Regions from separate parts of the Homo sapiens genome. Here region 1 is linked to region 2. The links are contacts of gene promoters, found by promoter capture Hi-C in blood cells and fetal thymus (Javierre and others, 2016). All regions are on one chromosome and are shown on one strand. The core of a region is centred on a gene start or on the middle of the fragment in contact, and the rest is flanking DNA. Distances in the headings are between cores, read along the strand shown.

Region 1 (4,431 bases), core at 1,179-3,678, 920 kb before region 2:
GTGGTCCATTGAATTCCCTTAATTATGTAAGCCAGCTTGAGTTGCATTTTTCTGTTACTTGCAACCAAAGCATCTTAACAAATAAATATATTTCAAGGTTCTAATATTAGGTGAAGAAAAATTCATGACTCACAATGTCTTAATGAATTATATTTTTTCATAAAATATTATTCTTTGTCCTAGTTAATTAACACTTTAGTCCTTAAATTTTATTTTTTTCTAAATACTACCATGGCCAAATCTACTTTCTTTTGTTGGTATTTGCATACCTATCTTTTTCTATGCTTCTCAATGTAAATTTGTCTTTTTCTTCTATATATATCTCTTAGGATAGGATATGGCCTAGTTAGTCACCTTTTATGTCTTAGAAGTTCTTGATTAATTGAAGACAGGTACAAGAAATCAGATGATAAAGCCAAGAACATATTGCAACAGAAGCAGATTCATGGTTGCCTTGGGCTGGCGGTGTTGGAGGGGTGAGAAAATAGGGAGGGGGAGAATGGGAAGTGATGGCAAGGGGTTATAGAGTTCATCATTTTGAGTAATATAAATGTTCTAAAATTGATTGTGGTGATTGATGCACCTTTCTGCGAATATGCTAAAAGCCATTGAGTTGTACACTTTCAATGGGTGAATTGTATGGTATGTGAATTGTATCTTGAAGCTGTGAAAAAAGAAGATATTGAATACATAAAACAAGAATAGGATGCTATGGAGAAGAAGCAATTACAAAGCCAGAAAATAACTCTTGTAAATTTGAAGTATTATTGTCAAAATGTGTGTGTGTATATGTGTGTGTGTGTGTGTGTGTGTGTGTATGTATATACATATTTAAGCATCTTATGTTGCATTTTTCTGTTACTTGTAATATTATAGTAATATTTGAAAAAAATACATATACACATTTATTTGTATACACACATGTGCATATATATCTATCTCTATATGTATAATAAAATTTCCCACAGTATGGGACAATTAGGTAAAAAGGTTTTAAAAAATGAGAGAAAATATAAGAAACCAAGAAAATCAATCCATGAGGTTGAAATGCCTAATAGACTCAAAAATAGAGGACAGAGAGAAAGGGGCATAAATAGTAAAATAATAATATAATAATAGAAGACAATTTCCCAGAACTGAAGCACCTGGGTCTTCAGTTTGAAGGGAACTCAAATGCCCAGCATAATGAATAAAAAAAGGCCCATGGGACATCAGCACAAAATTCCAGAATATCAAGAATAGTGGAAATATCCTACAAGCTTCCAAAATAGGTGGATGCAGGGAAGGGACATTTTGGCATCAGCTGCCTCATCAGGTACTCAGGCTGCCAGAAGAAAGTGAGGACTGTCTCCAAATTTCTGGGGGAAAGGAATTTTGAACCTATACATCTAGGACAAGCCAATGTTTAAAGGCAAATAGATCTTTTCAGATCTGAAAGGACTCAAGGTTGACCTTGCACACATTTTGAGAAATTATTTGGGGTTTCTCTCCACCAAAAAGGGGATGCACCTTGAGGAAGGGCTCCAAGAAGAAAGTGAGTCCATCCCAGAAGGATAAGGAGTAGCAGTCCTTGGGTGACAGCCAAATAGCAGTTAGAGAGTGACTGATCCAAAGAGAAGGAGCGAATTGTCCAGGAACAAACCAGAGACTATAGAGCAGCCTCTCCTCCTTGGTGGGGGGAGTTTGCCCAGCAGAGCCTATCCTCAGCTTATTTCCAGGGTCTGCAAGGGTGACTTTCCAGCAGGCTGCCTTCCCAACACCCAGCCCCCAAGGGCAGATGGTGGAGAAATAACCCACAGACATGTAACTACCCAGATGGATGACCTTGATCAGGTCCAGGAACAGAAGAATGAAGGAAGAAGCAGAAGAAAGGAGGTGAGCAGGGGTACCAGTTAGCTGTTGCTGTGTGACAAAACACCCCAAGGCTCAGTAGGTTCAAATAACAACCGTGTAGTACTGCTCATGAGTCTGTGGGCTGGCAGGATGCTTCTGATCATCTGAGCCGGACTCAGCAGGGCTCACTTGGGTATCAGCTACACATCAGCATCTGGGATGGCTCCGCTGCTGCTGAGTGGTATCTTTCTGAGTGGCTAGCAGGCTAGCCCAGAGATCTGAAAGGAAGAGGAAGCATGCAATGGCTGTTACAGCCTAGCCTCAGAACCTGAATCCCCTTACTTCTGCCACATTCTGTGCACCAAAGTGAGTCACAGGCCAGCTCAGATCCAAGGGCTGAGAAATGCACTCTGCATCTTCTCAGGAGTTACTGCACAGTCACCGGGCTGAGGACACATATGCAAGGAGGGCTGCAAAACCATGGCCACTGTTGTAAACAACCTACCATGGGGACGGAAAATAAGGATTTTTTAAAGGTAGCAAAAAGTTACTTCTCTTACCACGTGGGATCTCTTTTCTTTTCTTTCCTTTATTTTTGTTCAAGACAGAGTCTCACTCTGTTGTCCAGCCTGGAGTGCAGTGATGCAATCACAGCTCGTTGGTGCCTCAAACTCCTGGGCTCAAGCAATCTTCCCACCTCAGCCTTCCAAGTAGCTAGAACTACAGGTACATGCTACTGCAACTGTCTGATTCTTTTTTTGTAGAGACAGGGTCTCACTATGTTGCCTAGACTGGTCTAGAACCCCTGGCCTTAAGCCATCCTTCTGTCTCAGCCTCCCAAAGCACTAGGATTATAAGCATGAGCCACTGCACCCAGCCAGATCTTTTTTTCCTCTGTGACCCGGGCAGAAATGGACCATTTTCCAGATGAGAAATCTAGACCTTCTGTGTGGTGCAGACATTGCCGTGTTCATTTCCCTATATTCCACATATAACGAAGTCTCTGGGTGGTCCCAGGCTGGAATCCAGTACATCGCTGGAGCAGAGCATTGGACGGGAAACTCTCCCACTGTGGCACGTGGTGGCAGCCGAGGTCTCCAACTGAGGCTGTCAAGGGAAGGAAGAGCTAGCTCCCCACCCGCGCCCGCTTCTTTGCTGAAGTTGATCTTTCCAGAAACCAAGCATGGAGGTTCTGAGGGTAATGGAAGTGCCTGCTCAGGCGGAAACTTAGAATTATGCCAGCTGCTCCCTTGGCTGCAAATGGAGACCTTAAGTCACCTTGGAACAGACTCGCCTTATTATCTCTGGAATCTCCTTAAATTGTATAAATGCAAGGCAGGCCGTCACTGCTTTTTTTGAGAAAGGGTGCAGATTGACCCTCGCTTTCTCTGACTTGGAAATGTCTGCCCTTCCAAAGAATCCTTAATACACAACGTCAGGGAGAAGGGGGTGGCAAATTCACCCAACGGCCAAGAGCCTGCCAGAAAAAAGGGATTTGGGACTCTGTTCCCTTCTTTTATTGGAGCCAGAGGCTCTCAGAGAGGCCCCCGGCGGGAAGGGTGGCCAGGCCCCAGAGTGTACCTCTCTGCAAGAGAAGGACAGAGTCTGGCTGGGGGTGGCCTGAGCAGCCGTGCAGCCTCGGGTTCTTAAACAGGGTGTGGCAGAGGCTCAGGCCCTGTGAGCAGCCAGGCATTCAAAGAGCTGTCGGCTTAGAGCCTCCCGGAAACACCTGCCTCTGGGGTTCTTGAACAACTTGCGCGGCCGGGAAGCTTGTACGCCCAAGATGCAGGATGCCTGTTAATCGGAGCAAGCGGGAGGACGAAAGGAAACCATGTGGCAGGAGATGGGCCCCTCTGTGTGCGCAGCTGGACTCGGCCCTTTGCTCGGATCCTAGCACTCATGACAGCTGGCCTCACGAAGAGGTCCTCTGGTTGGCCTCTGCCTCTCCGATTCCCGCACCCCTTAGAGCTAAGGCCTCTGGCACTCCTCTCTACGACCCCACGGTCCTTTCTCTGCACCACCCCACGGTCCTTTCTCTGCACCGCCCCCACCCCATCCCTGGGCACAGGGCCTGGCATCAGTAGAGGATTCTTGCGCGAATTCGGTGCACGCCGAAACATTCTACAGAACCCATTTCCACTTTCAGCTGCGTGGGCCCGGCAGGAACGCGCTCTTCCTCGCGGGCCAGGCAGGCAGCCCCTTGGGCTGGACGCAGGTACCTCCCCACAGGGCTTCTCAGAGCGCCAGATCGCAGCATGCACTTCTGAAGGCGGCCGCGAGGTGGCACTGCGGCTTCTTGGGAAACAGACAATGCGAGGTCTCCTTTCAGAGGATCTGGCCTGGGCTGCCCACTGACCCGCGCAGGCGACGGGGACGGGGCACGTGCCTCCCAGGCACTGTCAGTCGGCCACCCACAGGGACCCAGCACCTCCAGGGCCGGCCAGTCCTGCCCAGAGTGGTTCCCAGGGGAGCTGTGTTCCAGCTCGGTGCCTCCACCTCCAGGTCTTGATTTCCTCTTAAAATAAGGAGGATGACACAGATTACAAGGCAATGAATAAGAACACACTCTATGAACTATAAAGCCGGGCAGAAATGCCT
Region 2 (4,279 bases), core at 1,780-4,279:
GGTGACATAAAAGCACTCCAGCCTCCAACTAGTAACTCACATTCACCCTTCTCACTTCCCTGCATCCTACCTGTCAACACACTTCAATGTAGTGTCTGACTCCAGACACACCGGCCAGCCCAGATCTGCTATCGCCAGGGCCACTAACAGCTCCTAGTCCTTATCAGATGACCTCTGGGCAGCCAGCTGACCCCATCCACCATCTTGACTGCTCTCTTCAGTGGCCTTTGGGAGGGCTCCTGATAATCCCCAGCCCTGCTAGGATCTCCTCTCCTTCAGTGTGGGCCGGACCTCAGGACTCACTTCTCGCTAAGAGAATATGGCAAAAGTAAAGGAATATCACTTCCAAGACATGGCATCTGTCTTGTATGGCCTCTCTCTCTTGTTCGCTTGCTCTGAAAGAAACCAGCTGCCAGGTTGTAAGCTGCTCTGTAGAGAGGCCCCCACCCAAGAGCCAGTGGGAAACTAAGTCTTCAGTCCAACAGCCTATGAGGACCTGAATCCTATCATGTGAAGAAGCTTGGAAGGGGATCCTCCTGAAGATGAGCCTTCAGAGGAGACAGCAGCCCTGGCCAATACCTTGCCTGCAGCCTTGAAAGACCTTGAAGAAGAGGCACCCAGTGGCATCGTGTCCAGATCCCTGATCCACAGACACCGAGACAGTGGGTGCTAATTGCTTCAAGGTGCTAAATCCCAGGATAATTTTTTTTTTTTTGAGATAGAGTTTCGCTCTTTTTGCCCAGGCTGGAGTGCAATGGCACAATTTCGGCTCACCGCAACCTCCACCTCCAGTGTTCAAGTGATTCTCCTGCCTCAGCCTCCTGAGTAGTTGGGATTACAGGCATGCGCCACTACGCCTGGCTAATTTTGGATTTTTAATAGAGACAGGGTTTCTCCATGTTGGTCAGGCTGGTCTTGAACTCCTGACCTCAGGTGATCCACCTGCCTCAGCCTCCCAAAGTGCTGGGATTACAGGTGTGAGCCACCATGCCTGGCCATCCCAGGATAATTTTTTATGCAGCAATAGATAACACAAGCCCATGCAGAGTCTCTTCAGCTTTCCTGTCAGCAGCTCCTAGCATCCGAGGTGCATCCTTCACATCCTTTGTTGGTGTCTCTTAACTGTTGGGGTTTCCCAGGTCCCAGGCTTAGACCTTCTCATCTCCCTGCACTCACTCTGGATTATACAACCACTCCCAAGGCAATCTACAGCTTCAGTCCAAACACGCCCTTGAGTCCCATACATGGATATCCAACAGCTTCCTGGATATGTCCCCTCGGCCCAAATTCAGCACAGCCAGAAACAAACTCATCTTCTTCCCCCTTAAATTGCTGGTCTTCCTGTGCGCTCCTATCTCAGCTATCATCCACCTAGCTAAGCCAGGATCCTGGTGTCATCCTGCATGCCTCTTTTGCTGTCCTCAATCACCAACACCTATAGACCCCACTTCCTGGCCGGGCGTGGTGGCTCACGCCTGTAATCCTAGCACTATGGGAGGCCAAGGCAGGCGGATCCACTTGTCAGGAGTTGGAGACCAGCCTAGCTAACAATGGTGAAATCCCATCTCTACTAAAAATACAAAAATTAACCGGGCACAATGGCGTGCATCTCTAATCCCAGCTACTCGGGAGGCTAAGGCACGAGAATCGCTTGAACTTGGGAGGTGGAGGTTGCAGTGAGCTGAGGTTGCACCACTGCACTCCAGCCTGGGTGACAGAGTGACTCTGTCTCAAAAAAAAAAAAAAGATTCCACCTCCTAAACATCTTGTATTTCCAGTTCTCTCCATCACTCCTGCCTCCCTACCCTGGGTCCCAGGCAGAGATGCTTGTTCACTGCACAAAGTGCCTGGCTAAGAGGGTTGCGATTCAGCCCTGCCTCTGCTCACTAAGGCTGCCTGGAACTAGACAAGAACCACAGCAACCTCCTCGTTTGCTGCCTTCAACCTCGTTCAATCCACTTCCACCTGGTAGCAGCCAGAGGGATTCTAAAACCCACACTAGTTCACGTCTCACCCTGCTCAAAATGCTTCCATGGCCTTCCATTGCTTTCAGAATACAGAATAGTCAAACTCTCTAGAAAAACATCTAGCTCTTTTTTGATCCGGATTTTCTCTCCCTCAAGTCTTGTCTGTTGCCCGGCATCATAAGCTCCTAGGGTTAGTTCTTAGGGAGGGGCTTGCACATCCGGGCCCTGCCATGACCTCTGCAGCTTTGCACATGGCATCCTTCTATCTGTAACATCCTCCCTGCGTCTTCGCTCCCCTGGGCAAAGATAACTCCTACTAAAGCCTCAGATGTGACCTCCTACAAAATCCCAGAGTTGTCCAGCTGCTTGAAGTATTGAGCCTTTGAGCTTTGGGAGAAGTTAAACCATTGTGCTCCTAAGACGGTAAGAAGCGTCAGAAAACCAGGCTCTGAACCTCTGCTGTCTTTTTTTTTTTTTGAGACGGAGTCTCACTCTGTCACCCAGGCTGGAGTGCAGTGGCGGGATCTCGGCTCACCGCAACCTCCACCTCCCAGGTTCAAGCGATTCTTCTGCCTCAGCCTCCCGAGTAGCTGGGATTACAGGCCCGTGCCACCATGCCCAACTAATTTTTGTATTTTTAGTAAAGACTGGGTTTCACCATGTTAGTCAGGCTGGTCTCGAACTCCTGAGCTTGTGATCCGCCCACCTCGGCTTCCCAAAGTGCTGGGATTACAGGCGTGAGCCACCGCGCCCGGCCTCTGTTGTCTTGTCAGCAAAATGGCCCTGGTGTGACCGAGGTCACGCAGCCAGCAAGTGTCGTCGGGTCCCCTGGAGCCTCAGCTTCTACCTCCGCTCCAGCTCCCACCACAGCGCAGGCGAGCGCACGCGCACAGCGCCGGGCCGCACACCTCCGGGCTCTGGGCGGAGCGCCTCGGGCGTTGTAGGCGGGACCGGACCCTCTGGCCCGCCCCTCCGTGTCCCTTCTGGTCGCCAGTGGACGCCGACGTCATGACGTCGCGTTCCGTAGGGCTCTTCCCGGGCTTTGGTGGGTCACGTGAACCACTTTTCGCGCGAAACCTGGTTGTTGCTGTAGTGGCGGAGAGGATCGTGGTACTGCTATGGCGGTGAGCGCGCTGGCGCGTGGCGGGCGGGCGCCGGGGACATGGGTGCGGAGGCTGCGCGCTTCCCGTACTCTGGCCCCGGCCCAGGGCGGCGCTCTGGGTGAGGCTGGGCCCCAGGCTCTGGGGCGCAGCTACTTTCTCGCCTGCACCCTGCGTGAGGCGACTCGCCTACCTACCACTGACCTGGGGCCCTGGGCTCCCTAAGGCGAGCTCGGCCCGTTCAGCCTCTGTCCTTTATTCACCCCACACATACTTATTGGGCGCCATCTGTGTGGCGCTGAGCGTACAAAAGACAGGCCCCCATTTCACTACACTCCTTTAAACTTTTTTTTTTTTTAATTTCCCAATGATCCTTGTTCCAAACACTACACTTACTTTTGTATTACCTTCTTGTCCCTTTGTCTTGTATACTGTCTGTTCCACATCTGAGTTCCAGACCTCTTGTTTTGGTGGCTCTTCTATGCCATCTCTATCACAATACCTTGCGCACTGTGTGTGCTGAAATAGGTCTAATGCTTAAGGGGAGATAATAGACAGTAAACAGGTAAATAGGCAAATGACATAACCTCAGTGGTTTTTCATGGAGAAAGCACGGTGATGTGGGTGACCCCGATATTTGAGCTGGCTTCTATTTGTTTGGAAGCCACTGACTCAGATTGCTCAGCTGAGAGCATTCCAGGTGAGAGAACAGCAAGGGCAAAGATCTGGAGGCTGGAAGGGGTTTGGTGTGTTGGAGGACAAGAGTCACAGGTGGAGAGAAAGAAGGGAAGGCCCCTGATGGTAAAAAGGAAGCTGTATCATGCCTCACCAGCTTCCTAGGTTTCTGACAACCGCACCTTCTCTTGCAGGAATCATCGGAATCCTTCACCATGGCATCCAGCCCGGCCCAGCGTCGGCGAGGCAATGATCCTCTCACCTCCAGCCCTGGCCGAAGCTCCCGGCGTACTGATGCCCTCACCTCCAGCCCTGGCCGTGACCTTCCACCATTTGAGGATGAGTCCGAGGGGCTCCTAGGCACAGAGGGGCCCCTGGAGGAAGAAGAGGATGGAGAGGAGCTCATTGGAGATGGCATGGAAAGGTAATTTCATTCAAGGCCCTGGACTCAGCAGATAGTTTTGCAGAGAGCCCATTGTGTGCCTGGTGGCCTGGCTTTGGGAGCTGGGAGCAGATGAATCGATGGCATTCTTGCCT

What was found. The method cuts DNA at HindIII sites, captures the fragments that hold promoters and counts their contacts. A CHiCAGO score of 5 or more calls a contact.
Region 1: a fragment that was not itself captured here is called in contact with the fragment with the promoter of MCM2 in region 2 in 1 of 17 cell types (total CD4 T cells); the score reaches 5.2 in total CD4 T cells.

What each region holds. Positions count from the first base shown.
Region 1 is chr3:126,675,307-126,679,737 of GRCh38, forward strand. No RefSeq gene overlaps it. Among named protein-coding and RNA genes, the nearest start is that of TXNRD3, 22 kb to the left of the region's middle. RefSeq lists enhancers at 3,569-4,175, 3,691-3,790. The HindIII fragment of the contact is 2,343 bases long and covers 1,258-3,600 here.
Region 2 is chr3:127,595,382-127,599,660 of GRCh38, forward strand. It overlaps MCM2 (minichromosome maintenance complex component 2), which reads left to right and starts at 3,030. Exons shown (of 16, transcript NM_004526.4): 1 at 3,030-3,091; 2 at 3,937-4,166. The coding sequence starts at 3,086. It also overlaps a transcript of TPRA1 not described here. RefSeq lists enhancers at 2,708-3,665, 3,019-3,138 and a silencer at 3,169-3,328. The HindIII fragment of the contact is 9,465 bases long and covers 518-4,279 here.